Regions from separate parts of the Homo sapiens genome. Here all the other regions are linked to region 2. The links are contacts of gene promoters, found by promoter capture Hi-C in human tissues and cell types (Jung and others, 2019). All regions are on one chromosome and are shown on one strand. Each heading gives the region's core, a stretch centred on a gene start or on the middle of the fragment in contact. The rest is flanking DNA. Distances are from core to core; before and after follow the strand shown.

Region 1 (3,990 bases), core at 460-2,959, 1.6 Mb before region 2:
ATTTTTGTGTTATCTCATATTTTCAGTAGTTTAAATATAATTACATTTTTGTTCTTATTATTTTGTTTTGATTTATATTTTTTATTCTGCATGATATTCTCTGAATTGCGTAGAACTACAAATTTTCCTATTATTAATTTTGGAAAAATATCAAAGTATCTTCAAATATTTCTTTGTCTAGTTTTTTTTTTTCTCTTTTCTTTTTGGGGGTATAATTACACTTGTGATACAAGATTCGATATTGTTCCCCAAATTTTTGATACTCTGCTTTTGTAACTTTTTATCTATTTATACTTATTTTTAGGTAATTTCTATAGACCTATGTTTAAGCTTACATATTCATTTCTTCTCTGTGCTAAGTCTACTGATAAAGCCATCAAAAGCATCTTCATTTCTGTTGCTGTTTTATTTATCCCTTCATTTCCGTGTGATAATTCCTTGCGGTTTCAAAATAATATTCATTTTTACTCTATGTTTTATCTTAAAAGTCACTTTACACTACAGAATATATTTAATAAGTCCCCCACACTCCTCAAAAAAGACTGTAATGACAATTTGTGTCTCAATCCTCTGAACTGAAGTTTCTCATAGAAAATTGTTTCATGCTTACTGAGGATTCACCAAATAAACTTTGGTTTGATCATTATTTTTCATCTTTTTAGTGTTTAAATATTCTAGAATAACTCTGTCATTTTCAGTTTTTAAATAGTCATATCCCTACTTTTCAATAGAGGTAACAGTCTTGTGTAGATTCCCAAAAATAGATGAGGGAAAGAGCGCTGTGGAGGCACGTCCCTCACTCCAAGAAGGAGCTAAGCTCTACAACCACAGAAAGAGAGGAGTCACAACAAAGCTGATCTGGCATGTTCTCTAATTTTAGCATGTTTTTCATACTAATAATAGTTATTCTGAATTCCCTGACAATTCCAACATCTGTGTCCTATTTGTTTCTTGTTTTGATTGCTTTGTCTCTTACGACTGTGCTTTTTCATGACTTCTTACATCTTGTAATTTTTTATGTTAAAATTTAGTCATTTTGTATGAACAGTGGAAATTGAGGTAAACAGTTTTTATTTTTGGAAATAAACATGCCTTTGTTAGGCATTTAGTGCAGGGAGATGTTTGAGTTCATCTAATTAGGAATTAGTCTGGGTTGTAGATTCCGGATTGTAGATTTGTTGTTGCTATAATTAGCCTCAATGGACCACAGCCTTCAAATTCCTGTAGGACTATCTTTTGTTTAGGGTGGAGCTTAGTTTATTAGAATGATGACTGTTTTTAAGTTTTAGATCTACTCTGCACTGTGCCACAAAGTGGGTCTTTTTGATTGTTCTTGTTCCGTCTGCTCCCTACCAGCAGTTTTCTCCTTTTACTGGTTATCCAAATCATGTTATCTTGGCAGTTGAGGGTGGAGTGTGGTGCTTTCTTTGGTGTTATTATCAAGCCCAAATCTAAGGTATGCATGTGTCTCTGGGTTTCAGAAATGTGGCCGTTTTGTTCTCCAGCTACACTTTTCAGCTCAACGCATAATTTCATCCCACTCCAGGAATAAGCTTTATTTATTTTCCTTTCCTCGGCTGCATGAGTTTTCACAAATGGCCTAGGGGGTACAGTATTTACAGCATTTCATCCACAGTTTAAGGCTTTTGTTCAGTAGTATAGATAGGAAAGAAGAATCTGGCAGATTTTGTTACCTCTTCTATAAAACTTTTCTATTCTTCTTTCTTAGGCTTGCATCACAATGCGTATTTCTTAAGGTTCTATCTTTTCTGTGAGTGTGCAGGAAGAACCTGGAAGATGATATGGACTCCCATAGTTTGAGACTCACTAAAATTTCAAAATGTTCTTCTGGCTCACACTTGGTCTTGGGCAATTTATCAATTATTCAACTGAGCCGTTCTTACCTCTGTGTAGGTGAATCTAGCCAAAGGCCACAAGTTTGTACATCCCCACTCTGCCTGTCAGTACTATGTTTCCTTAATTTTTTGGTTAGTTGATTGTTCTAAAACTTCCACAATCCAATAAGTTTTAAGAAAATCATATTTCATTTTAAGGGTAGGGGTGATACTCCTTCCATATCTTTATACCCCAAGGCAAAAGCTGAAAATCCTGTGATAGAATTCTATAATAATATTATTAGGCTGCTCTGCCATACCTTATTTTCTATAAGTCACCTGACTAAAGTTAATTAATACTTATGGTTATTGACGTGACACAAGAGATGTTATTTGCATTTAATGATACAAACTGCATAAGACACTGAAGAGAACAACTCAAAATGTGACCTACATCAAATTCTTGCAAGTTTCCCAAATTCCGGAAACAAGAAAAATGTATTGCTACTTTGCTTGATGTTTTTTTTTTCAAGTACAATGAATGTGTGTATAAAATTAAATGCAAATCTGTAGTAGAGATTTACTATTAAGTTTTTTAAACATGCTGAACAATGCTGGCTGAAAAAATAAAGAAATAAAATGTCCTATTGAAATTGGATACTGCAATTCAACACTGGACAGCTTTAGTTCATATATTTCAATGACCATCAAGCTCATATACTGTTAGATTTAATTATCTCAAGTATATAACTCAGGAACCCTGGTATGTTATTCTAATAGCGCTATGAAGCTTCCAGTATTTGCAGCTGTGGCCAGAGCATGTTAATCAAACTAGTGTCTTATAAAATGAAAGTGATTATAAAATGTTAGTATAATTTATGTGGGGTAAGAAATGGAAGGGAATATATATTCAGAAAGCCCAGTTTTGAGATCTGACAATACAACAATTTTCTTTTCCTTCCAGCAGATAAGAGAATTATATTTACAGAGCTTATATTTTAAAAATAAATCTAATGCTTGCTTTTTCTTACTTGATCATGAAGTGTTCCCCTGGCTAAGGATGCCACTCAAAAACATATTCTATTTCTGTTTATAAGTACCACTGGGACAATGCTGATATTGTACTTGGTTTCTTTCCAGAAAAGAATATTCTTTCTTTCACTTTACATATTCATTTTACTCTAGCACAGCAATATTTTCAAGTTTTTAAAATGTAAAATTGATTTTGTGTTATTGAAAATTTTATTTTGAAAATATTGAAATAGCACCAGAATTCAAAAGAGGTAATTTGAATGTTTGCTGCCCTAATTTGTTGCAAAGATAGAATAAACTACGTAAGTGTAAAAAATCCTAGATTTAAAAAAAGCAGTTGGCATTGAACATATTAATGTTTTAGTTATTATATTTATGTATATTTTTTACTGATTTTATGATTTTAATATCAAATTCTCCAATTGAAAATCAGTCTGTATGCCTCTAAAAATTAGTAATCCTCACTTGATGCTCTTTTCCATACATGATGGCCACATAAAGCTATTTGTTATTTCTGTCTGAACTGATGAATTTTGCTTGTTGGATTGTTGCTATATCTGCAGAACTTTTAATTCTCAAAAATATGTGTCTGTGAAATAAAAATAAAATTTTAGCAAATGCAGAACAACATAGAAAAGCCAAAACATTGTATATTAATTTTGAGAACGCAACATTTTTTGCTACAAAGTTGTCAACTTAACCATATTTTGTCTAGAAAATACTGAAAGATTTTAATTCACTGAGCACACACTAAAATGGCAGAGCTTAGTGGTGTCTATTAAGTAAAAGAGAAGGAAGCTACCCTAAGGGTAAAACAAATAATCTTTAAAAAGCTAATTTTATATGCTGCCTACTTTTTAAAAATTCTTATATAACTGTCATATTGTATAAAATATCTAAATTCAATGTCTAGATTTTCTCAAGAAGATGATGCTGGTATGTGATGGATATAGCATTTAAAAGCATTGCTCAACACTCTCTACATGCTGTAAAAATATTGCTTATGGTGTTGTATTGGCCTTTTCCTGAAGTATGCAGCGTCAAATTTCTGATATCATAACTTGCGTCATAACAAAAGATTTGTAAAAACAAAATTTAATTATATTTAATTAAAATAAAACTT
Region 2 (4,556 bases), core at 1,012-3,511:
TCCTTAAATAGAACAGCTGTGTTACTTCTAGTTCTCTCTTTGTTGCTCCATAAAAAACTACCCCAAACTTAATGACTTGAAAAAACAACCATTTTATTATACCACACAAATCTCTAGAACAACATTTTGGGTAGGAGTCAACTAGACAACTCTGCTCCACACAGCAGTGACTGTGGTCACTCAGCAATATTCAGCTGAGGGCGGGGCTGGGCTGAAGTGTCCAAGATAGCTTCACTCACATGCCCGGCACTTGAGTGTAACCACCACCCTCCCCCATATTTACATAGGTATAAACTTTTTTTTTTTTTTTTTTTGAGATGGAGTCTCGCTCTGTCGCCCAGGCTGGAGTGCAGTGGTGTGATCTCGGCTCACTGCACGCTCTGCCTCCCGGGTTCACACCATTCTCCTGCCCCCGCCTCCCAAGTAGCTGGGACTACAGGCGCCCGACACCACGCCCGGCTAATTTTTTGTATTTTTAGTAGAGACGGGGTTTCACCGTGTTAGCCAGGATGGTCTCAATCTCCTGACCTCGTGATCCGCCTGCCTTGGCCTCCCAAAGTGCTGGGATTACAGGCGTGAGCCACCGCGCCCGGCCAAACATATTTTTTTTTTTTGTATTTAACTTACCACAAAGCCCATGAGAAGGCAGACAGTTCTGAAACCATATTCTGGAATCTCTGCCCTGCAGGTCCCTAAAGAGTTAACTCAAAGCCAGATACCCAATGGAGGCTCAATTAATGTGAATTAGAAGCAACAATGAACCAAATCCACAGATAACATTACTCACACTAGATTGAAAAGTGTAATCTAGAAATATTAAGTGTGAAAAAGTTTCTCAATTATAGTTAAATCAGAATTCTTTAATATGTAAAGGCAGTGAACGGAATGTTAAAAAAAAATGGAATGTCACATAACTTCTATAAATTAGGTGGTAGAGGACACCAGTTATGATGCATTTCATGAACCCCTACTCAAAAAGAAGCTACTTGTTGAAACAAAATATGAATTTAAGTGTTTTTTTTAAGTGTTTTTTTGGGGGGGAGGGGCATGGTTGTTCTCTTCCAAAAACTGAAAAAAAAAAAAAAAAAAAAGACGAAAAGAGCATATATGTTATGCCCTTTTCAAAGCAAACCTTAGGTCTTATTGGAATTGTTTCCTAATGCTATATAAATGAGACACGTGAGGCAATATACACTCCCCCACAGATGAATAACATAACATTTAGGTTACCAGGGCCTTTCACAATCTAACCTAACACCACTTTCCCAGGTTCATTTATCACTGGTTTCTTCTCAATACCTTCTGGTCAAAGACCACCAGAAGCACACATGTAATTGACAAACGGGGTTTATTATTCATTGCAGTAAGGGTTCTCTGTAAAATATTAGAAAATGCTTATTGGATTTGGGATTTTTTTCTCCTAATATTGGCTACCTTACCAAATCTTAGGAGGAAGAAAGGCTAGATCAAGGCTAAGATTGTAATTGGTAAAGAAGCAGAAGTCATCAAATTAAACCAGATAGGGTGATGTCCGGTCATTTTCGTGGCTTGGACAATGTTTTATCTGTGTTCAGATGTGATTACACAGTGATCATATTCTTTTCTTAATGAACACTGTCAGAGTGGTCTTGTTGGATGCTAATGCTTGCTGAAATTGTGTACGTTCATCAGGCGGACACCAGTTCCTAGTCCAGGCTAGCTCCAGGTGTCAGAGGCCACTTTTCCCTTCTACTCCTCACACATGCTGTACTCATACCAGACTTGAGTTTTCCCTGCCCTTTGTTCTTCCTTCTTTTTTATTCGATTCCCATTATCTTTAGTGATCATTCCCTTAGCATTTCAGTTTTCTCTCTGAAGTCCTTTGTGCTGCACGTTGTTTGATTACTTGTGTTTATGCTTTGTTTCTTCAGCTAGGATCATTAGCACATATCTCTCAGCATTGGCAAAAGTCCTCGAAATCATTGACACCTAGCATATACTTTATTTTTAAAAAAGAAAGAAAGAAGAGAAAAGGGATGGGTTTATTGTCCTTTTCAACAGACTAGAGTATACGGGGTGAAACTGCTTCACTTGATTCAATAAAATCGTTTCCGGTAACAGGCCCCAGGAATCCTAGACCTAAGCCTGGCGCGAAACTACATTTCCCACAATCCTTCGGGGGCTGATAAGGCTCCGCAATGGTCTGAACTACAATTCCCACAATCCAGGGCGATTTCCGCTTTGTCGCGTTTCCTCAAGGCTCCGCCCCATTTCCCATCTTTCTTTTCAGTCCTTGCGCACCGGGGAACAAGGTCGTGAAAAAAAAGGTCTTGGTGAGGTGCCGCCATTTCATCTGTCCTCATTCTCTGCGCCTTTCGCAGAGCTTCCAGCAGCGGTATGTTGGGCCAGAGCATCCGGAGGTTCACAACCTCTGTGGTCCGTAGGAGCCACTATGAGGAGGGCCCTGGGAAGGTTAGTGTGTAAGGGGCACGGCTTCGTTGGGGGAGGGGGCGCTTGGCTGTGACTCGCGCACCTGCAAGGCCGCCTCCGGGCTGTGGCGTGGGAGATGATAGCCAGAAACCAGGCTGAGACGCAGACTAGCATTCCACTTAGCCCAAGGACCAGTGAGGAAGCTGGGCATCCTAGCGCGTAGCCGCTAAAGGAATGGGCAGGTAGATCCGGAAGCCCTGCCTCCATCAGCCACCTGACGCCCCCTCCCCCGCCCCGCAGAAAGCCCTGAGATGGCTCCGGGAGGCCACGGCTGTAGGTGTGTTGGTTAAATCCGAGCTGGAGGTCATCGGACCCGAAATGAAGGTCATTGGAAAATCATGAGGAAATCAGGGCCTCTGGTTATGGAACAGGCTTTTTAAACTAGCTGCCTAAGTTAGAAGTACTAACCCTTCACCTCAGTTAAGGCTGGGTTTGGCCTCAGGTGTAAATAACTTAAACCACATAGCAGTAACAATCTCGGAGGGTCACACGAGGCCTAGTCATAAAGGCCAGAGAAGGTGCTTGGTAATGAAAAACAAACAAACAAAAAAAACTGTGGGCCAGGTGCGGTGGCGCACGCCTGTAATCGGGAGGCTAAGGCGTTCGGATCACCTGAGGTCAGGAGTTCCAGACCAGCCTGGCCAACATGGCGAAACCCTGTCTCTACTAAAAAGTACAAAAAAATTAGCCGGACGTGGTGGTGTGTGCCTCTAATCCCAGCTACTCGGGAGGCTGAGGCAGGAGAATCGCTTGAACCCGGGAGGTGGAGGTTGCAGTGAGCCGAGATCGGGCCACTGCACTCCAGCCTGGACAGAGCGGGACTCCGTCTCAAAAAAAAAAAAAAAGAAAAAAAAAGAGCTGTATTGCACTTAACATTGCCATGTATCTTCTAAGGTGACTACTTAGGACAGTAGTTTTTTCGATTTTCTAAAGTAAGAAACTTCTCACTATTTGACGTTTGAGTCCTCAAGACCATTCATTGCCTAGTGCTTAGTAAAGCCAGATTATTTCTTGCCATGTAGTGTTTTGTGATGAAGGTCATAGGATTTGAAAGATAAATGTTTAAAACGATGTTATGATTTATGGCATATGTTAACCTGATGATGTAAAATATAACTAGCATTTCCTGTATACTTGTATTTTGATTATTAAGCAGATGATTTGAGATTCAATTTCGATTACTTTTTCTCTTTTTTTCCAACAGAATTTGCCATTTTCAGTGGAAAACAAGTGGTCGTTACTAGCTAAGATGTGTTTGTACTTTGGATCTGCATTTGCTACACCCTTCCTTGTAGTAAGACACCAACTGCTTAAAACATAAGGATGTTTCAGTTCCTCCATTTAACAGGTAGTTAGTGGATTTCTAATCATGTTAAAGCAGGCCTTTTTATTAAGTAGCCTCTTCCCCATCACCCAGAACACACACACAAATACATTGTTGTGTAGGGCTGATTCCTGAGGTTATGTGTAGATGTGGCATTGGTGGAGACTAGTTGTAAACCTATATAAAAATATTTCAATAATGGCCAGTGTTTATTGAATACTACTGCTTATCAGGTACACTTTACATCGATATCTCATGTTCTCTAGCAAGCTTGTGAGGCGGATGATAGTAACCCCATCTGAGACACAGAGATGTTAAGTTGTTCAACATCTCATAACTAGTATAATGGTGGACCAGGACTCTTGCCCAGGCAGTTTCTTGTTGCAGAACTCACACTTTTAACCAGGTAAAACTGATAAACTGATTAATGTTACTCTATCTTGAACACTGTTACTAGAACAGTAGCTGAGAATGTGTCTTTTAAAACACTATAAACATTTCCATTTCTTTTAGAAAGTGGTCACTGTGCTCCTAGTTTTTAAATTGGCTTACAATACTTGTTTAAGTTGTGAAAAATCCCTGAAGATAAAACCCTTCTAGTGCTCCTTGATACATAAGTCCCAGATAATTATGCAATTGTAAATCTGTGCCTCACCAACTCAGCCATGTTGGGAAACTCAAACTTTTAAATATACTTTCCTCATTAAGGCAGTGGTTCTTAAATGAGGATGATTTTACAACACAATGGGGCATTTGGCAATGT
Region 3 (4,664 bases), core at 2,148-4,647, 1.2 Mb before region 2:
AATTACTTGTTCCTTGCCCTGCCCATTTGAGGATATTATGGTTCCTTGTAAGCTGTTGTTTCTTGTGAATGTATGTCTATGTATTTTCATTAAAGTATTAGTTATTTATTCCAGTATTCTCTGTCTTACTTATTTGGGTACTTATTAGATATATTTGTTTAGAGGGTTTTTTTTTTTAACTACTAGGTGACTGCTTTCTTTATGGCTCTAGCTGGCACCTTAAGCCAAGGTTCACCTCAGATATAGTAGTTAATCAACGTGCTGCCCTTCTTGAAAGGCAGCACATTGTTTCAAAGAGGATATCCTGGCAGCTTGAGAAGGCTGGCTGGAGGTTTGTGCATAAGTGACCTGTGAAACAAACCTACAGCATGCTGCTGCTAAATGGCCACTCTGATTTGCTGACACTTTTGGCCAACTTACAGAGCATAGTTTCTTGGGCTGAGGATAATAGTTCTACCTCCCCACTTTGTCTCCTCCTGCCCTCAGGGATATTTCATCCTTCAGACAATTCTGATGCTTTCCAAAGGTTAAGTCAGGGACAAATCCTCTACCAGGGAATCCAAGATGATGGGGAAGCTGGTTGTCCACTTCATTCTCATTTTTTCCAATGTACGAATTGTGAGTTTGGGGAAAATTTTTAGGCACTTGATGCCAGGGAGACTGTGGGAAGGCATTATGGGTGTGAAAGTGTAACTAACTTACCATCTGCTTGGAAATTTTTCCACTTCTCGGTGGAACTGTCTCAGCTTCATATGTGAGTTCTGAAATATTGCTTGTTATAATCTCAGTGCGGTATATTTGGTTTTGGTTTTTTGTGGGAGGGACTGAGGCCAGCCTGCTTCTATGCCACAATTTTGGAACCAGATGTCATATATATTTTAATCAGACTAAGAAATTATCTACAAATTATAATCTGCAGTCTTTCATTAATTGAAAACACATAATTTGAGTGGCTATTTTGTGGTAGGTGCTTGATGATCAAATAAATAAATGAACAATGAAATGAAATGAAAAGCTTCCAACAAAGTACAATTAATTAGTGCTTTCAAACAAAGTTGGTGGCAATAGAAGTAAGCAGAGGGAAACTAAGGAAAAAAATTGAAGCTTATAAATGCATTTCTTACTCAAGAGAACGATCAGCTTTTGCTGAGATTAGAACATAAAGAAGACATTTTCATTGAAGTCTGGAAGTGGAGATTGCTACCAGATTGTGGAAAGTCCTGAATGTGATATAAAAGAGTTTGTATTAGAAAAGGTCTAAAGGCTGGTAAGGGGAGCAATATAATCAAATATTAGTTTTGGCAGGAAAACTGGCTAGCTTGTGGGACATATTTTAGAGTGAGTAGAAACTAGAACATAAAGACTCATTCCTTAAGCTCACACGAGAGACAATCAAAACTTATATAAATAAATAGAAATATTTATTTAAGAATAAAATAGTTGAGTTTTTATGTAACTCTAGGAATGATTTAAATAGAGGAAACGGAAGAGTTGATGAAGAACTGGGTGGGCAGGTTGAAGGGAAGAGATGCATACAGCCTAGAGAATCTAAGAAAATCCAGGGATTCAGGTGAAAAGTTGGAGGACAGAGAAGTAAATAAAGGGAAAATAGGAAATCAGAATTTATACCATCTTTTTCTTAAGAAATTATTTTGAATGTGAGAACTATAATACATTTTTTTTTCTGAACTACTACCAATCATTTCCTCTACAGGATGATTTTGCTAAAACACACTCAGTTAAAATGTGACCTTCTAGGGATGGCAGGATGCAACACTGATTCCAGAAGCTTTAAAGTCTAACAACTAGCTTGTTTTCCTGAATTCAGGACTTTTTTTCTGACCATATCCATTAAGCACTACTTTAAAATTTGCTTTATTATTAGCCAAGGGCTTCTAGTAAACACGTTTGCCTTCTTTAAAGGAGGAGTATCACAGACACTTAAGCCCTAAGTAATTGGGATATTTGTATAGCCTGAGTTTTATTCATGGAGATTTACATTCAATTTCCATTAATCTTAATAGGAAGTCATTACCTAATTGGCATGGATGATTGATAATTCAGAATAATTCAAGATAGTGTTACCGCATTTGATATTTTCTGTTACAAATGTCAACAACACCCATTTAAAACTAAATATGCATCATGTTATCTATTCCCAGGTAATTCTCCACATGGGCAAAAGTTTACTTTGTAGATAATTTTAAAATTAAAAAAAAGAAACAGCATTGAACCCATTAAAGATGTTAAAATATCTTTAATAAGTAAAGCTATTTTAATACTCAGTTCTTATAATTAAGAATTGCTGAATAGCCTGGAAAGTTATATAAGAAAAATATTCTTTGTGATATCTGAATATATATTTAAACAAGAAAAATAAATATTATTAGCATATGTGAAATATAAAATTAACATAAAGCTTTGTTCTTAATATGAGATTTTTTAATGTCCTTAAGAATTTGTGTCATGTGTACCATTTTCAAATATATGATTGGGAAACAGAAAATATAAATTTGAATTTAATTTGTAGGCTAAATATTAAGTGACCATATATACATAGGAATGTGAGTGTCAGTGTATGTTCATCTGTAAGTAGTTACAGAAAAGTAAACAAGAATCACTGCAATGATAGAACCACTATATTCTAGTTTAATTATTTAATTTGTGTATTTAACATTTATATTTATGTATTTTTCAACCAATTTGTGCAAAATTAATTGTTAAATAATAATTAATAAAGTATATCCTACTTCCTATTTGCCACATATTCCATGCTGCAAAATTAGAATGCTATAAAGAAAAAGTATGTTCCTAGAAATAGTTATCAGATCTTTATATAATGCATATCAAATTATAACTAGTTGAAATAAGTACTGACCAAATTTCCAAATTTTAAAGCCATTTTAATGTTATAATGGAAATACATTAATTGTTTGTTATTATTCTGTCTTCTACAGACAACTTCATAAAAGGGCAATAAATAGAACTTACATTTATCATTGTTTTTATTAGAAGAAACCCCAGCTATGATAATTATTCTACTTTTCAGATAAGACCTGTGATTGGGACCAAGAGACAGAGAAACAGATAAAAGTGATAAAAATAAAAGTGATTGAAGCCTTCTAGGTCAAGATTTTCTCAAAAGTCAATGAACAGTCAGCTCACCTGATATTTTGTTTAAATGCAGATCTGACTCAGTAGGCCTGGAGTAGAGGATCTAAGATAATCTTCCTGTCACAATTCCAAATGATAATATTACTGATCTAAGGACAATACTTGAGTAGCAAGCCCATTCTTCCTAATTTTCCAAATACATAAATAAACTCAGCTAAATTTGATGATTCCCAAATACCATAAAATTGATCATGAGCAGACCCCAAACTATATCATATCATTTTTCTTGTATTAGCAATTTGTATACATTTTTATTTTTCTAAGTATCAATTACATTATTTTCTATGTCACAGCATTTATATTTTATTTAAATCAATTTAACTGGAACTAACTGAATCACTATTAGCGAATCTCTTAACCAAGTTTAATATTAGTGAAGGAAGAACAGTACATTAGGTAGAACATTGAAAACCCACAGGAGAAATTAGAAATTAAACATTAAGTAGTGACTGGAGGAATATTGGGCTGTGGTAATGTGATACTTTATTTGAATCTGTAATACGGTTAGGTTAATTTGAAAATACTTATTGTGTCTCAGTTCTAGTGTAATGATCCGATTCAACTGGCACAAAAAATTTCATTTGAATGTAATCTTTAAACCTTTGTACATATTTTCTCTTGTGAATTTAGTTAACCATGCCAAGTCATTGCAACAGAGTTCCCTACTGATATAGAGATTTTCTTTGGCCTGCAAATTAAGTTGTTTGTGACTTGGAGTAAGGTTCCTGCTAGGTCTGCCAGCTTGCTTTAAGCTAGAATGAAAATACATGAATGGTTGACTTATGTTGATGTAAACTGTAATTTGAATATGTTCCAATCTTTCCGAAAGCTTTCAGAATGTGTTGTAGTATGAAGTTGGATAATTATGTATTGTCTTCCACTAATAATAGTTATAAATTCAGCACATTTAAAAAGCCTGCATGAAAGTGTCAGTTTACAGAATGATATTTATATTAGCAAAAGTAATGCATTTCAAGGATAAAAACAAACAGTAAAGTAAGTGGAAATACAGCTACCTATTGGATAGCTTCCTTCTGGGAGGAAATTTCCACTCATATTTTCACAGATCTTAAGGAAAATAGTAACCTGTCAGTCAAAAGTAATTGATGATCTATAGTACTTGGAACTGTTTATCAATGGGTTTGTTTACATGCCAACAAGTCTATATAAATAATATTAACTATATCATAGGAGACGACTTGGTTCATGGTGTCTCCTAAGTCATACATTTTCACATTTTGCATGAGATGTAGAAATACATCACTGACAATAAGTAAAAATGAAAAAAAATTTCTCAAGGTCCCTTCCACTCCCCACTCTTGACTTCTTAGGGCCCTATATTTGGTCCAGTTCTTCCATAACAGCCAATTTCTAGATTTGTCTAGTCTTTTCTCCCACCCAAAATGAGAGAGAACATTTGTCTTAAAATTTCAACTTGATCTTCTCTTGACACAACAATCTGTTCTAATGCATTGGGGATTCACATTTGT
Region 4 (4,600 bases), core at 83-2,582, 1.8 Mb before region 2:
CTTCTCCCAGACCCCTCTCTGCCACAGAGAGCTTTTCTTTCTTTCTCCTATTAAACTCCGCTCTGAACCTCACTCTGTGTGTCTGCATCTTAGTTTTCCACAGCTCTGAGACAACGAATCTTGGGTATTAACCCCAGAAAATGATGCCACTTTATAATCACTTTGCATCATAAATAAATTAGAACCAGAACAATGCAGAAATAGATATATAAAGTGCCACGAGTGTGAAACTGCCTGTGAAGGAAAATAAAACTAGGCCCTGAAGAATAAAATAAGTTTGCAAGGAGAGAAAGTCAGAATTCCGACTTTTTTAATTTATAAATCCATTATGGAGCACACATTTACCATGTCAGCCACAGTTTCTGGTAATGAGGATATGTAATTTAAAAATACAGCCGTTTCCCTTATGGATTTTGTAGTCCATTGGAGAACCTGAGAAGACTTAGGAAGCACCCCTTATATAGGCTGCAGAAGGGGAAGCTAAACAAGCTTCCTGAAAGAGGTGGCATGAAAGATACTCGTTTTTAAAAATCAAGTAGAGTGTTTATCAGAAGAATGAGAGTGGTGGGGGTGGGGGAGAAGGGAGGGACATTGCCCCAAGTGTTCAAGACATACTCTTGCAGAGAGAAACAGTTTCCTTCCTTCCCTTTTTTTTTCTCTTTTGTCCTTTCTTTCTTTCTCCTTTCCTTTCTTCCATCCCTTCCCTCCCTCTCTCTCCATCTTTCTTTCTTCCTTTTTCTCTTTTTGCTTTTCTTCCCTCTCTCCCACCCTTTCCACCCTCTCCTCCCTCTCTCCCTCCCTTTCCTCCCTCTCCTCTTCTCCTCCATTCCTTCCTCCCTCCCCTCCCCCCTCCATCCCTCCCTCCCTTTCTCACCTTCCTCTCCTTCCTCCCTCCCTCCTCTTCCCCTCCCCCTCCCTCCCTTTCTCACCTTCCTCTCCTCCCTCCCTCCCTTCCTCCCTCCCCTTCCCTCTCTCGCGCTTTCTTTTTTTCCTTCTCTTTCCTTTCATCCTTCCCTCCTGCCCACCCCTCTCTCTTGCTCTCTCTCTCTTTTTTTTTTTTTGAGATGGAGTCTCGCTCTGTCGCCCAGGCTGGAGTGCAGTGGTACCATCTCGGCTCACTGCAACCTCTGCCTCCTGTGTTCAAGCGATTCTCCTTGCTCCGTCCAGCTAATTTTTGTAGTTGTACTAGAGACGAAGTTTTGCCATGTTGGCCAGAGTGGTCTCCAACTCCTGACCTCAGGTGATCCGCCCGTCTTGGACTCGCAAAGTGCTGGGATTACATGCGTGAGCCACTGCGCCAGTCTTTCTTGCTCTCTCTCTCTCTTTTTTTTTTTTCCTTTTCCCTCCCTCCGTCCCCTCCTTCTTTCCTTTCTTCCTGCCTGCCTGCCTTCAATCTCTCTCTCTCTCTCTCTTTTTTTAGACGGAGTCTCGCTCTGTCGCCAGGCTGGAGTGCAGTGGCGCAATCTCCGATCACTGCAAGCTCCGGCTCCCTGGTTCAAGAGATTCTCCTGCCTCGGCCTCCCCAGTAGCTGGGAATACAGGCATCTGCCACCAAGCCCAGCTAACTTTTGTATTTTCTTTTTCTTTTTATTTATTTATTTATTTTATTTTATTTTATTTTATTTTATTTTATTTTATTTTATTTTATTTTATTTTATTTTATTATTTTTTGAGACGGAGTTTCGCTCTGTTGCCCAGGGTGGAGTGCAGCGGCGCGATTTCGGCTCACTGCAAGCTCCGCCTGCCAGGTTCACGCCATTCTCCTGCCTCGGCCTCCTGAGCAGCTGGGACTATAGGCGCCCGCCACCACGCTGGGCTAATTTTTTGCATTTTTAGTAGAGATGGGGCTTCACCGTGTTAGCCGGGATGGTCTCAACTTTTGTATTTTTAGTACAGACGGGGTTTCACCATGTTGGCCAGGATGGTCTAGATCTGACCTCGTGATCCGCGTGCCTCGGCCTCCCAAAGTTCTGGGATTACAGGCATGAGCCACCACGCCCGGCCCTCTCTCTCTTTAATACCTCCTGTATTTCACCACTCTTGCAAAGTGAATACGTATATCCAAAAGGTTTACATACAAACAAAAGGTTACCAAGTGTGCAATTTCTGAAGCTACTCCTTTAGAGAAATAATATTTTAAACATATGTGAGGTTCTCACAGAAGGTGAGACAAACATTATACTTCATTTCCTAACTCTGTGTGCAATATTGACAATAAGAAAGATGTATTCAGTTTAACAAGTATTATTGAATTCCTCTTTGATTACTATTATAAGCAGGGGGAAGCATGGGGGTGGGGAAGTCTCCAAGAACTATAGGAATTTAATCAACATGAACAATCAGGCTATTTTACAGATTCCTGCCTTGCAGTATTGTTTTTTTCCGAAACCCTGTATGGAATGCAGTCACCTAGTAGGCTAGAACTAGCTGCAAACAGACTCTAGCAACTTATAGATGAAACCTGAATGAATTTTCCTCATTATCATGCTAAAGCTTCCACGCTGGGAGAAGCTATGGCTTCATTACCGAAACTTGCGACCTACCTGCTGGCATGTGTCACTATACTTCGTATGTGCTCCTGTCCATGCGATGATGCACCCTCTCCCCTCTCCATCACCAGGTAAAACACTCCTCACAATTTCTGAAAATATAAGGCTTTACATTAAGTCTATCCAGGGGCACCATTGACAATGACCTAAGTTGCTAATAAATGGTCTGTAATTTATATGAATATTTGATTTTTGCAAAGTTGTTATTATTATTTTGTTTGCTTATTCTGACAATGACCTAAGTTGCTAATAGATGGTCTATAATTTATATGAATATTTGATTTTTGCAAAGTTATTATTTTGCTTATTCTATTTCAACAGACATCATTTTGTAGCTAATTTAATTCCTTTTACTGCATTTCATTAACATTTAAAAGAAGAAAGAAAGATATTAAGACATTCTCTGTGTATTTTTATACATGTTTATAGGGTTATCTTTGTACTAAAAATTCCAGAGACATCAAATCTCTTCAAACAAATCCAAGGTTACCAAAGCAATAGCATTTACTGTTTAAATTAATCCCTTTGAACACACCCTCCAATTCTCTGCCCTAGAAATATTACCCCCTAGAAAAGAACTTAACGTTTTCACATCTTTGACAAAGAGCTGTATCAATGTGTGCTACCCTGCATTTTCCTGAAAATTCATAAGAAATCATTTCAGTCAATCCAATAGTAAGTTTAAAAAATTATTTTATAGTTTTATCCAGAATCTTGACATTTCAGGTATTTGAGACTCCTGTTTTTTTTTTAATCTGACCTTTTCTACCTAAATATCATATTTTTGCGTTGCATTTTGATAACTCAATAACACTTTTAAATGAACGTTTCATGCTTTTGACTCTAAAGTATACAGATCAACATGGCAAGAGCAAGTTCCATTTTTTAATTTAAATATTTTCATGGCTTTAAGCAGACTTTAACCTTTACAACAGCCTGGATGCAATTCTGATTAACACCTTCACTATTTAGCCTGGTGATTCAGTGGAGGTGAGCCCTTTCCCTTATAGTAGGAGTATGCAAACTTTTTAATATCTGAACTAATTGAGAAATAATGAAAATTTTTACAGGCAATTTTTTTTTATTCAACATGAAAATGTTCTTATTGCTCTACATTGGTATATCTATATATATATATTCACACACACACAATATCTATATAAACAATGTAGAGATAGAGAAACTATCAAACTGAAGGCTAGAAAAAAATGAACTTTCATTAGGCAATAAAATAATATATGGTAATATTTGTGCTTTTCAGTATGAATGTTTACCCCTTATAACTGTATAGTGACAGTTTCCAGAGAAGATTTATATACCTTATATTGCCAGAAAACAAAGTACAAAATAGGCATTATTCCATTATTTTGAGTAAATATAGTCAGAGCTATAAAATATGTTGCCCAATCTCACAAGAAAAATTAACTACAATTATTAGAGTAGTTTTTTTTAGTCAAAATTATACTGCTGAAATAATTTTATTACATTCCATGTTGTATTAACTTTGCTGTTCCGTGCATATTTGCCATCAGAGAATCAGCCTCTTTTCGTAAATGAGGAAAATATTTCTTAAATGTTTATGCTGCGTGGCTTCAGAAAGCTTAGAGTTTATATCAAGTTCCAATACATAAGTATTTCTGAACCAAAATCTTACAGTCACTAGCGAAAGGACCCTGGTTCATATTCCGGCCTCAGTAGGTTGCCTAGCTACATGCTTGCCTGGCCTGACACCAGCCTGCCCCTAATTCTTCACTGCAAACATGGGAACAGATTTCTTCCTCAATTCTACAAAACTCTGCTTAGTCCCAGCTGTAACTCTGAGCCAAACTTCAGTGAAAGCTGGGAGATAGCAGATAGAAATTACAAGTCAGAAAAGAAAATGTTAGAGCCAGACAGGGGCCATAAATTCTCCTGGATACCAAAACTGACGACTCTTTACAGGGTGAATCTTCTGTCTCTCTCACCTTATTGTCCATTCTCCTGCTGTCAGCTGGCAAAGACCAGTTTATCTCCCTCAGTGGCCATATTCTGAACCTGACTTCTACCTTCAT
Region 5 (4,499 bases), core at 1,266-3,765, 1.2 Mb after region 2:
CTTAACTCTGTATCAGTTTCCCAAAGCCAGATCTTCCTTTATTGGACAAAGATTTTCCATTATAAAAAATGTTCGAAAGAGTGAGCAGTGGCTTCTAAAGGCAATTATCAAAAGAGGACATTTAATGCTGGTTAGAGCAATAGTAGCATCAGAAAACAAGTACTTAATATTTGGCAAGATGACCCCTTTGAAGCATTTGATTTTGATGACTGTTAGGTTATATTAATTAAAATAATCAGTCACACCACCCTATAGTCATATCTCAAATATCTTCCTGTCCTTTAACAAGATCACAGGCTCTTGCACCTCTCCGTGGAATACAACTTAAAAATGTATACTTCATGGTCACAGTCCCTTTGGATATAGGGTCTGAGTAACAAGGCCTCTTTGTTTATATGCACAATATGTAAAATGTAAGATAAATCTTAATATACAGACTAATATTTAACATCTTTTTGATAACACTGAATCATCACACTTGAATTCTATTTTTAATCTAGGCAAGTTCAAATTACAGGAAAATATTGGGTCTAAAAACACACAAATTTAGAATATAATAATATGAACAATAGTTAATGTATCAATATACATGCACCCAAATTTAAAATTTTGTTTTTAAAGTAATTATATACACCAGTGCTTAAGTGTTTTCAAAGGGCTGGAAAAAAAACTTTTCCCTTGATCAGGGATTTACATCTAAAAGTAAACTAATAAGATCAGTCACCAGATGATTTTAAGAACAGTTGTTTTACATAAGTATTTTCTTTAAAAATTCAATAACATGTTCAGTTATGGATAATTATATATGTGCCAAATTTTGAGTTTCTGATTTTCTTTTAAAGTTAAATTTCTCTATTGTTAATAAATACCATATATTTATGAAATACATTTTTCCCTTTTGAAAATTCTGCTACTGTTTTGTCAGTGCAATTTATCACAGTGAAGTGGCAACCTGATACACTTAGTATGTGGTCATTTCTAGTCATGCTGAGCAATATAGGTAGGTGTACTCTAGAATCTTTGTGCATAACTCAGTATGTCTTGCCATTATGAACTAATTATTTCAGTAGAAAAGATTAAAATGAATTCAGGTTTCTGTGTCTTAATTCAGCAATGGTATCTTCTCAGAGTGTTAGTCAGATATAATTTCTTAAGTTTCAGAAATATCTACTCCCTTGAATTTCTGGAGGATGCCCAAAGTGAAATCATAAGCATCATGACCATGAGAAACTGTATTAAACACATGCTGGAAACTTCATTCCTCTCTGATTGATGAATGTATCTCTTTTTTGTATGGTCAACTGATTTTTTTCTTATTTATAATAGTACATTACTGAAGATTTTTATGATTGGCTATAGATTCTCAATCACTGGTTTTCTCTGTCAGGAAAAATCATTGTCTTTAATTTTTGCTGCTCTGAATTATTATTTGAGATTATTCCTTCACTGTATAGTTAGTATATAGTATTTTATTTGTATATTATGTCATGGTTTAGAAATTAGTTCTTCCAAGCTTTGCTTAACCAAAAGATTTTTTAGTGAGTTCCTCCTCCAAATTTGGCTGCAGCCTCTTGGGTCGTTTTATTCTCTTTTGCCTTGAATAAGAATCTAATGCTGAATATTTTTAATGGCTCGGAAAAAATACCCCTATAAAACTCCATTTCTGATTACTGCAATTTATAGATTACTGTGACACATTCAGCTTAGAAAAAGAATGCTGGGTTGTTTGAGAAAATGTTCAACAGCAAAATAAGTTAGATCTTATCTTTACAAACTAGAATATATCTTTGCTTTCCTAAAATGCTAAAATAACAGGCACATTTACTCAATGATTAAGAAAAAATAGAGAATAAACAGTGGGAATATAGAGACATATTTTCCTTAGGATATTGGACTTATCCTGAGAAAAGCATACAGGGCAGTTACCTGGAGCTGGCAGATGACACGTTACCCACTTTCTCTGGTTTCTTCTGCTAGTTGTATAGAGAACAGTTTCCTATGCTTCTCATAGATCTGGTCTTACAATCCCACCTCCCCGCTTTTGGTTTCCTTTACTTTTTCCTTATTAATTTGATTTATTTTGTTTGTTTGTTTTTACAATAGTTTAGCAACTGCTAAGCATGGCTGTATTAAAATATGGCTTGTTGTATTATACATAGTTTTGGGTTGCTTCTTAGAGTCCTAAGTTGGACTATCCTTCTGACACTATAATCCCGAAGTCATTATTGGGCACAGTAAGAGATTTTCAGCTCCAATATCTAACATCTATGATTATCTCTTGACTTCTTCCACGTGGAGGAGACCTCAGTCTTGTTTTCTTCATAGGCATTAGATTTAACATTTCTGCAGAGCAGAGATCCTTTCATTTGCTTTTCCTCTTAATTACCCCTTATGACTAGTGAAATTAGTTTTGCATAAAATGCTAGAGAACTTTATTGGAGGCCTTGTCTGCCATTAATATTTCCTCTGAAGTGAAACTTGCCTAGTCTATAAGGGACTCCATTAAGAGATGTCAATTGGAAACAAGACAGTCTTTTTGCAGACTCAGCTGGTGATAAATCTTTCCTTTCTCACCCTCAGGGTGATTCAGAGCGTATTTTTCATACTCCTAGACTCTGAATCCTTCCTCTCTCAGGAGAGAGTCATTTGATTGTGTCCACTCTTCCTGGTCTAGCTGTGAAGGCCAATCTGAACCAGGAGGCAGAGAGAGGACTGGATTTGTGATGTTTTAGCCTACCACCCTTGGAAGTCACTCATACTCACCCCTCCCAGTTCTGATCTTCTACTTCAGTTTGGCCAAGTGACTTCTGCCTTATTTTGTCTGTCTGGGCAACTATTTCCATCATTGCCCATAGCATGGGTCTCCCAGAATGAGACTCTTCCTTGCTCTCATGAGTGCTCCCTGGCACTGAAGTTAGTCTTTGAATAATTGTTGTGATCTACTTATGCAAATGGACTGTATACACTTCCAGGATAAATGCCAAGATTCAGAGTTCCCCAGCACACTTCTCCTGCCTGTTCTTTAGTACCATGCTCACCTGCTGTGGAATTCCCCATTCGGGGCTCCTGTCATTAATAGAGAACCGTTGTCACTTCAGAGAAAATCTGGGTCAGTGCCACATCCTCAGAGAAGATAGTTTCCAGGTTTGTGTCTGAGTCAATGTCCACCCATGGCTAACCTGGTCCAGGTAAAGCTCTAGTGCTAAGTTCAGGCCATCCAAGGCTGCCATGTTTGGCTATTGCTATTGTTATCCTGGTGGTGACCGCCTGTACTTACTTCGATGGTAAGCTGGTAGCGGCTTGTGCTTTTATTAGAGCTACACGTAAGAGGTTAGTAAACTTAGAGCTTAGAAAACTCTGATCCCACCTCTGCCTCAACAAAGTAACAGAGTGGTAGCAAGAACCCTAATGTGCAAAAGTCAACTGGCTGTCTTAAAAGAATAATTCCAGTACCATAATCATATATGTGGATTTGAAATTTATTCCCAATTATCTTGTCTGTACTTCTAAAATTGTTGAAGCAGTTCTGAGCATTACAAATACTGGCTTTTTGTCTCTTTATGCCTCCATGTCTGAATATATAAAGTGGTTATTAAAAAGTAGATGCTATTTTTTAAAGAAATGAGATACAAAACACATCTTTATATGCCAATCATTGATTATGTTACCAATAATAACTTTAACCACCTGGACATTTGGGAGCAATTTACATCAAACTAGTGCTTTTCTGGAGAAACATTTACCATCTGCATAATGTAGAATGATATTTCCCATTAATACCTGGTTCATATCTGGGGTATGTAGCAAGAATGAAAAAGATGTTTCTTATGAAAGGCCTGTTTCTTGACAGTATATGAATAGTGTAACCATTACTTTGTGTTCTATTGAAATGATCAATAGACAGACAACTTTTTCTGCTTATAATTGCCAACAACAGAAATGATGGACATTATTATTTCTGTTTGAAAACAAAACCTATTTCTGCAGTTCTATGATTCTGGTTTATTCGTGCTATCTAATGAATGCTTCCAATTACAACACATAAAAAGGACAATTTTATATCTTCTGGTTTTCAAATAAAGTTTGCATTTCATCCAATCTGGACCTTAGCAGTAAAATTACGGATGTCAAATATTTTTTCAGGTAAGATAATTTTTTTTAAGCACAGCAGAGCAATTTTATGTGATACAGAAAATTCTTAGACCAAAAGGCGAGAGCTTAAGCTATTAATGGCTCAAACAATTTGTATTGACTAAATACTAATAAGACCTGATTCTCTATAGCTAGGAATGCCATCTGAACCTAAGTTTGCATCCATCACTCTTTATCCTGGGCTAGTTCAGAGCAAGTTATGTCAATCAGTCCCACATTGGTTTAGTGAATGTTTTCCAAAATGCCAAACTAACAACAATGTTTGCTTTGCAGTCACCAGAGTCTTGCTTATTCCCTTCATCATTACATTTCTACAAATAGTCTTAAACAGAAAACCTCTGGTAAAG

What was found. Contacts are between HindIII fragments. The study calls those that stand out against the background at their distance.
Region 1: a fragment that was not itself captured here is called in contact with the fragment with the promoter of COX7C in region 2 in 1 of the 25 tissues and cell types used here (dorsolateral prefrontal cortex).
Region 3: a contact is called between a fragment that was not itself captured here and the fragment with the promoter of COX7C in region 2, in 1 of the 25 tissues and cell types used here (mesenchymal stem cells).
Region 4: a contact is called between a fragment that was not itself captured here and the fragment with the promoter of COX7C in region 2, in 1 of the 25 tissues and cell types used here (dorsolateral prefrontal cortex).
Region 5: a fragment that was not itself captured here is called in contact with the fragment with the promoter of COX7C in region 2 in 1 of the 25 tissues and cell types used here (spleen).

The regions. Positions count from the first base shown.
Region 1 is chr5:85,052,043-85,056,032 of GRCh38, forward strand. No RefSeq gene overlaps it. Among named protein-coding and RNA genes, the nearest start is that of EDIL3, 670 kb to the left of the region's middle. The HindIII fragment of the contact is 3,308 bases long and covers 56-3,363 here.
Region 2 is chr5:86,615,680-86,620,235 of GRCh38, forward strand. COX7C (cytochrome c oxidase subunit 7C) reads left to right here and starts at 2,262. Exons shown (of 3, transcript NM_001867.3): 1 at 2,262-2,451; 2 at 3,674-3,817. The coding sequence starts at 2,377. The coding sequence ends at 3,790. RefSeq lists enhancers at 1,930-2,009, 2,021-2,686, 2,073-2,367, 2,300-2,389, 2,687-3,352. The HindIII fragment of the contact is 7,958 bases long and covers 1-4,556 here.
Region 3 is chr5:85,385,103-85,389,766 of GRCh38, forward strand. No RefSeq gene overlaps it. Among named protein-coding and RNA genes, the nearest start is that of EDIL3, 1.0 Mb to the left of the region's middle. The HindIII fragment of the contact is 6,189 bases long and covers 304-4,664 here.
Region 4 is chr5:84,862,516-84,867,115 of GRCh38, forward strand. No RefSeq gene overlaps it. Among named protein-coding and RNA genes, the nearest start is that of EDIL3, 480 kb to the left of the region's middle. The HindIII fragment of the contact is 3,977 bases long and covers 1-3,321 here.
Region 5 is chr5:87,792,335-87,796,833 of GRCh38, forward strand. No RefSeq gene overlaps it. Among named protein-coding and RNA genes, the nearest start is that of LINC02144, 62 kb to the left of the region's middle. The HindIII fragment of the contact is 7,725 bases long and covers 1-4,499 here.